2 separate regions of the Homo sapiens genome follow, and region 2 is linked to region 1. Evidence: promoter capture Hi-C in human tissues and cell types (Jung and others, 2019). All regions are on one chromosome and are shown on one strand. Each heading gives the region's core, a stretch centred on a gene start or on the middle of the fragment in contact. The rest is flanking DNA. Distances are from core to core; before and after follow the strand shown. Region 1 holds the start of MCOLN3 (mucolipin TRP cation channel 3). Region 2 overlaps SSX2IP (SSX family member 2 interacting protein).

Region 1 (3,751 bases), core at 962-3,461:
TGTGTAGTCTATATGTCTGTCTTCACCAGTACCAAGTTGTTTAGCTTAAATAGCTTTATAGATATAGGTAGGATAAATCCTCCAGTTTTATCTTTCTTTTAAAAAATTGCTTTGGTTATTCTGGATTCTTTGCATTTGCTTCCATAGGAATTTTAGAATCAGGTTGTCAATTTCTACAAAACAGTTTGCTAGAATTTTCATTGAGATTGGGTTGAATCTATAAATGAACTTGGTGAAAACTGACATCTTAATAATACTGAGTCTTGTAATTTATGAACATGGTTGATATTTTCATTAAGTTTTCCAAATAAAAGGGGGAATCAGCATTTATAAGCACATCACATATGCCTCATATAGTAATGGGTGCTTTACATGTATCATATTAATTAAAAATCACCATTCCTTTTATTAGCTAGATTGTGTTAGGGACAAGCTACCCCAAAAAAGCTTCTTGGTACTGCCAACACCCCCGCCCCCCACCCCCGCAAACCTCTCCGTACCACCCCTCCTCTTCCCCCAAACCTTTTTACATTTCTAAGCCCCTATCTAGGCACCGCGGTGAAGCCAGGAGACTTTTACCTATCAGGTCTTGCTGCTATAAAGCAAACCCAATTACAAACCATCCGGACTGCACAGTGGGAGGTCGTGGGAAGTATAAACAAACTTTACCTACACCCTCCGGTACCATAAACGTCACAAGGTGATATGTGGCAGAGTTAACCAACAAACAACTCCAGGGTCTCTCTCCCCCACATAAAACCCTCATTTTGTAAGCTCAGGGCTGCCTCCTCTGTCTGTAATGGAGCAGCCGGCAGGTTGAATAAAGGCTTGCCTGAACTTGGGTCTCGGTCTCTCTCGGTCTCTCTCTCCCTCTCTCTCTCTCTCTCTCGTCCTTTCTCTCGGCTAACTTCACAGATTGCACATAAAAAAGAAAAGGGGTTCAGAGAAGGTAAGTAACTCCCTAGAGACCAATAAGTGGCACAGAAGGGAATTTGGGCCCTCATCTGTCTGACTCCAAAACCTGGCTTTATCTATTCACCGGTCCTTATAACTCAGCTAAAACGAGGGTTAAGCAAGTGCCATCATTTATGACTGTGAACCTCTTCAAAGTTCAGATTGTTCCTGAACAATCAAGCATTTCAAACTCTTACCATCAAGTAAGGAGATAGCGTTACATCGTGTGTAGGCATATGGGGATTAAAGATTACATTATATTTTCCAAATTGCACTTGAGAATTGACTGTGCCAATTATATCCTTTCTGGGTATCTACCTTGTTCACAGTATGTGGGATCCAGGTTGAGGAACAGCATAAAATTCTTGTACCCTGTTGCAAAAATTTATTAGTAATCCATGCATACTGGTTTAGGATTTGAAAACAGGTTTTATAAAAGGTTTGCTAGGTATCGATCTAATTTCAGGAATACCCTAGTAGGGAAATTCAGTGACCTTTACAAATTTACCCGTGGCCAAAAAAAAAAAATAAGTAAAAATTAAAAATCAGAACACATCCAAAGTAATTATAATTAAAATTAACCAAAGTTCCTGATCCAATCCTGATAAGGGGTATTAGGTTTAATATTTACAGATAATTTATGAAGAAAAAGATTACGGTTCAAAGTCTACTTCAGGTATTTCTATTTACATTTCTTGGAAAAGTTTCCCAGGGCTCTTTCTGCCCCAGCCGCCAATCTACAGAAGAGTCTAGTCGACTGTCCACTCATTTCACAGCACTTGTCTGAAACTAGAAGACCCAGGGAGGGAACAAGGTTCAGGCTTGAAACGCTAAGACATTCAAGATTTCACCTTGTATGCAAAAATCAGAATGGGAGGCTGCAGCGGGGCCTCACACTCACCGGAGCTAGGCGCTATAGATCCCGCACCCGCGGAGCCCGGCAACCACCTGAGGGGCCTTGGCCAGGAGGGGGTGGCCCCCCGGCGCCGGCGGCAGCTCCGGAGCAAACCTGGCAAACCCGAGCAGGGCGGTGCGGGTTGCTCAGGGAGAAAATGAAGGGAGTGATAGGGTGGGGGTGGCAGGGAACGGGCACAACGCCGGCTTCCTCCGGACGGCCTCCTGCGTCCCACCTGTGCTCCTGAAAAGCGGCCCCCGACAGGGCGCGGCGGGAACCCGAGCCGGGAGTAGGGTCACGAGTTAAAGCGGCGGGGGCGGGAGGATGCGCGGGCGGCGGACGGGGCGCTCTCCTCCCGTCTGACTCTGGGCGGAGCGGGGCTCGAGGCTGCTGGAGTCGCTCGCTGACTCGCCCTGCGCCCTCGCCGCGGACACCGGAGCTGCGGCCGCTCCCCGCTGTCCCCCAGGTGAGCCCGCGGGGCGCTGCCCCGGGGCGTCGGGTGTCGCGGGAACGGCGCCCGCGGCGCACAGGGAGGGCCGGGGAGGCCGGGAGGCAGCGAGCTGTCGGGGACGCCGCGGGAAGGCCGGGCCGGGCAGTCGGCGCCATGGAGGGCAGGCGGGCTGGAGCTGGGCGCGAGATGCAGCTGTTCCGCGCCGCCCCCAAGCCGCCCGCAGGTCAGTGGAGGAGCGCGCCTGCCGGGCCTGCCCGGGGCTGGGCGGGTGGGGGTGCTCTGCTCCTCGGTCCCCCTCCAGGCCGCCGCCCACCTGTGGCCAGGGCTCAGAGGGCTGGAAGCCACCCCCGCCCGGAGCCCCTGGGCTGGAAGGCTTGGATGCCGGCCGGGGCTCCAGATGGCCTTGACGCGGCTCGGCTGGCCCCTTTCAAGGCGGACTGTCCCCCTGTTAGAGGTGGGGGCGGCTGGAAGTGGGGGCTCAGGCCCGGGTCGCTGCGCTGGCTGAAAGCAGCCGCCAGCCGGGCTGCGGCCGTCTGAGCTCCACGGCAGTGCCCGGGGATGGCAGCGACCGCTCTGGGACATCGCTGCAACCCTGCAGATCTTTCTCGCACACACTACCCAACAAAAGTGTCAACCCTTGTTGTTTGTTTGTTTGAAAAAAAAAGAAGACTGGAGAGACTAAAGTTTTGTGTCTGGTGAAGTGGGAAAGCGCTTCTGAAAAAACGAGGTTGCATAACTTTGTCGCCAACTGGGAGGCCTTTGCTATTTATACACTCCCGGGCTTTCTCCAATTTTCTACAGCTTACTCCAATCAAGCCTCTGCCCGCCAGGAACAGGTAACCTGTGTGTGTCCGTTTGCTCCTTCTAAGAGCATGCCTGATAGATACTTCGGTAGCCTCTCCGGATGGCCCCTTCGTCGGGTAGCCTCTCCTGATGGGGTCCTTCGCCCACCCTGCCTCCCGCGCCGGCGCTCCGGGTGAATGTCAAGGGTGGCTGGCTGCGAATACCTCCTTCAGCTGCTGGGGTTCCCGACAGTTTGCAGTTTTTAAAAGTGCACCCTCGGAAGGGCTTTTCAGACTGGGTAAACCTGACTTTTCCAAGGTCAGCATCTGGTCCTGGTGAATGAAATGTCTACCGGGACAACTCGTTGTGATGTGCTGAATATATGCTGGTTGGCTTGTTTTCTCTTTGTTCCTGTGGATTACTGTACATGGTGTGTGGCTAGTTTGTTTAAAATTTAATTTTCCCTGTATCAAAGTGGAAAGCGCTTAGTGTCAATATACAACTCACCAACATGCTTATTAACAGCTTCATCATTATGTTGGTGTTCATATGCGAGCTTTGGTCAACATGAAATCATCTGCGTTTTAAGTCCTATAGATAAAGTCTCCTTAAATGCTGGTTAAAATATCCTGCCTTTTTGAAGGAAGTAAAACTGTTAAGTGAAAATC
Region 2 (3,945 bases), core at 1,098-3,597, 400 kb after region 1:
CCATGCCCAGCTGATGTTTGTATTTCGTGTAGAGACAGGGTTTTGCCGTGTTGCCTAGGCTGGTTTGGAACTCCTCAGTTCAAGTGCTCCACCAACCCTCAGCCTCCCAAAATACTGGGATTACAGACGAGTGCTGAAATTATTTTTAGTTTTTTAGGTTAACTCATTTGACATAAGAAGTACGAATAGATAGCCAGAGAGCAAACAAAGATAGCTAGAGCAATCATGTGAAATGGCAACTGTGTGGATGTTGAAATATTGATCATTATTTCTTTGGCTGTTTATGGTAGAGAAAGGCATTTGAAGAAGAAAGAGCCAGTTGGTTAAAGCAGCAGTTTCTAAATATGACTACCTTTGACCACCAGAACTCAGAAAATGTGAAACTTTTCAGTGCCTTCTCAGGAAGTGAGTACTTTATAAACTCTTTAATTTGAACATGCATATAAATAAAATTATTTACATATTACAAAATACTACATATTATTAATACAAAACTTTGGAAATCACCAATTAGAGCTCTCTAATTATAACTAAAAGTCAACTTTTTTTTGTTTGTTTTTGAGACGGAGTCTTGCTCTGTCGCCCAGGTTGGAGTGCAGTGACGTGACCTTGGCTGACTGCAACCTCTGCCTCCCAGCTTCACGCGATTATCTTGTCTCAGCCTCCTGAGTAGCTGGGATTACAGGCATGTGCCACCACGCCTGGCTAATTTTTGTATTTTTAGTAGAGACGGGTTTTTACCATATTGGCCAGGCTGTTCTTGAACTCCTGACCTCAGGTGATCCACCCATCTCAGCCTCCCAAAGTGCTGGGATTAGGCATGAGCCACTGCGCCTGGCCTAAAAATCAACTTTAATATTTTATTTACTGTAGTGAAAGTGAGGATGAGAGGGGGACTGTGCATGCCCAAAGTAACTTTTGTTGTGAGTTTGTAATAATGCGAAGTTTTTGAAAATTTACATTGAGAATTTCTTTTTTCAAGATGTAGTCTTGCTCTGTCACCCAGGCTGGAGTGCATCTCGGCTCTCTGCAGCCTCAGCGTCCTGGGCTCAGGCAATCCTCCTTGCCTCAGCCTCCTGAGTAGCTGAGACTATAGGCACACACCACCATACCCAGATAATTTTAAAAACTTTTTTGTAGAGACAAGCCCTCGCTATACTACCCAGGCTGGTCTCAAACTCCTGGCTTAAGCAGTCATTCCGCCTCACCTTCCCAAAGTGCTAGGATTACAGGTGTGAGCCACCCCACCCAGCCTAGAAATATTTTTAAAACTAGATCCTTTTGGCTGGGCACGGTGGCTCACGCCTGTAATCCCAGCACTTTGGGAGGCCGAGGCAGGTGGATCACGAAGTCAGGAGATCGAGACCATCCTGGCTAACACAGTGAAACCCCGTCTGTACTAAAAATACAAAAAAATTAGCCAGGCATGGTGGCGGGCCCCTGTAGTCCCAGCTACTCGGGAGGCTGAGGAAGGAGAATGGCGTGAACCCAGGAGGTGGAGCTTGCAGTGAGGCAAGATCGCATCACTGCACTCCAGCCTGGGTGACAGAGCAAGACTCCATCTCAAAAAAAAAAAAGATCCTTTTAAACATGGGTGGACTATGCAACAAAGATAAGCAAGATTAATGATAATTAATTTGAATTTGTTCCATCTCTTTCCTCACTCAGAACCGCAGATGAATCATCCTGATGATTTACCTTCACTATATTTAATGCCTCACCATATGTACTGCCTTTTTCTCTTACTTGTTTTACAACAGGTTCTGATTGGGACAATCTTATAGTGCACTCGAGGCAGCCGCAAAAGAAGCCTCACAGTGTGTCTAATGGGTCTCCAGTTTGCATGTCTAAACTTACTAAATCTCTTCCTGCTTCACCTTCCACTTCAGACTTTTGCCAGACACGTTCCTGCATATCTGAACATAGGTATTTGTCTATAGGTGATCTTTTCACGTGTTTCTAAAAATTGCTAAAGTTGCACTGCTAAGGGAAAGGTGGCATGTCTGTAGTATTAGCAACAATAGAGATTTTGGAGAGGAATTTAGTAGATGATTTATTCATTCTACAAATATTGAGTGTCCAGTATATATAGACACTGTGCTAGATGCTGGAAATACACTAGTGAACAGGTAGATCTGTTGTCTTCTTGGAGGTAAATCATATGATGTGTGTCTTTTTATTTCACATTTAAGATACAATTTAGAATGTAGTCTTAATTATAGGAGTTAATATTTTAAGCACTTTAATTGTATTAAATGGAAGGATATTGTTTTGACAGTTTTTGTAGAGTACATATCTTAACACTTTTTTCCGGCATGCCCATTTTATTGTTGTTGAAGGGCAAAGAACTGAGAAAAGCCTGTTCCTGTTGAGTGAAAAAGATTTGTGCCCAAGGATGACAGTGTAAAAAAACATGGCTCTCCACCCTGGGAAACCCATATGTTGCTCTTAATTGCTACATTTTGGTGTTTTCCTGTATCTCAAGTTATTATATCATTTTCTAAGATAAGATCAATACTCTGCTTCAGTGCCAATTCCAAGATTAGTTTTAAACGAAGAAGAGGAAGCAGGTAGAACATTCCTAGTAAGACAGAGAGGAATAGAAAAGATCAGAGGGGTAAGTTGGAAAGTATGGTGGTAATCTCTTTGCTCTTAATTAAAAGTAGGAGATAATGGCCTTGGAAAACAGTCAGAGCTGAAGCAAACTCGGCCTGTGTTAGAGACTGGAGTGGAACTAAGTGTCGAAGAAGCCAGCTGGCCCTTGGGCCAAGAATTATGAAATAGATGGAGTTTAAAACAAGAAAGGAAGCTTTTAAAAGAAGGAGGAGAACACACTATAAGTTGTAGTTGACTTTTAAGAGGTGGGGGGATTAGGACTCCAAGTAAATGTTAGAGGGGATGAAAAAGAGCTAGGTAAGAGCACTCTAGCCAAGTGTAGGAACCCTGAGGGTGGGACACACCTCATACATTTGCAATGGTGACCAAGACCTAGAGGTGTGAGATGAGGATGGAGAGATGTAAAAGTTCAAATATACAGAGAGGATAAGATCGTGAACCCACGTGTACCTATGACTCAGGTTCAGCAATTATTAACTCTGATCAATATTGTTCATATATAATCCCACTCTGCTTGCTCTCTCCACCCCAGCCCCAACACATCTGGGATTTCATTTACAGAATATTTTAGTGTGCATTTGCAGGTCAAATATTGTTCTAAGGGGAATAGAAAAAACACTAGTTTTAAGCAAGAGAGTGAAAAAAAGTCTTAAGTTTTAAAAAGATTACTGTTTTATAATATTGAAAACAGATTGTAGGAGTCTGTAATATAAACCAGGAAATCCAGTTAGGAGGCACTATTGGAGTGGAAACGAAAGACAATGGTAATTGGACTAGGGTCATAATATGAAGGAAGAAATGCTTGGATTTGGGATCTATTTTGAAGTTAGACCAGTAGATGAGTTGAATATGGGAAGTGAAAGTTTATTTATTTTACAATCAAAAGATAATGTGTAAGCTTATAGTATTTTCTTACATAGAATGTTATTCAAACTTCTAAATTTGACCAGTCAGAACTATCTGTATAGATATAGACACAAATTCTAGCCACCATTCACAAATAATGCATTTTATATCTAAGAGATAGCATAACATAGTTGTCTCAATTGTTTTTATATATTTTAAATATTTAGCTTTTTACATCATTTTTAGTTGTGAAATATTTGACATAAACATTTCTTGAAGACATTGTTTTATGTTTAATAAAGTTCAGCATTTAGTACCTAAATCATAGGGTGTTGCAAGTTAAATGTTAATGTATGTAAAGCACTTAAAAACATTTAGTGACAGACTATAAAAATAAAAATATATGTAAACAAATATAAACATGCTTTTTTTGTTTCTGAGTGCTCCACTAAACAACATCCGTGGCATAGAAACAATTTTGGA

The links. The method cuts DNA at HindIII sites, captures the fragments that hold promoters and counts their contacts. A contact is called where the count stands out against the background at its distance.
Region 2: a contact is called between a fragment that was not itself captured here and the fragment with the promoter of MCOLN3 in region 1, in 1 of the 25 tissues and cell types used here (H1 embryonic stem cells).

What each region holds. Positions count from the first base shown.
Region 1 is chr1:85,046,960-85,050,710 of GRCh38, reverse strand. MCOLN3 (mucolipin TRP cation channel 3) reads left to right here and starts at 2,211. Exons shown (of 13, transcript NM_018298.11): 1 at 2,211-2,315. RefSeq lists silencers at 1,810-1,949, 1,980-2,729. The HindIII fragment of the contact is 9,392 bases long and covers 1-3,751 here.
Region 2 is chr1:84,648,343-84,652,287 of GRCh38, reverse strand. It overlaps SSX2IP (SSX family member 2 interacting protein), which reads left to right. Exons shown (of 14, transcript NM_001166293.2): 12 at 291-405; 13 at 1,761-1,926. Among named protein-coding and RNA genes, the nearest start is that of LINC01555, 15 kb to the right of the region's middle. The HindIII fragment of the contact is 3,856 bases long and covers 420-3,945 here.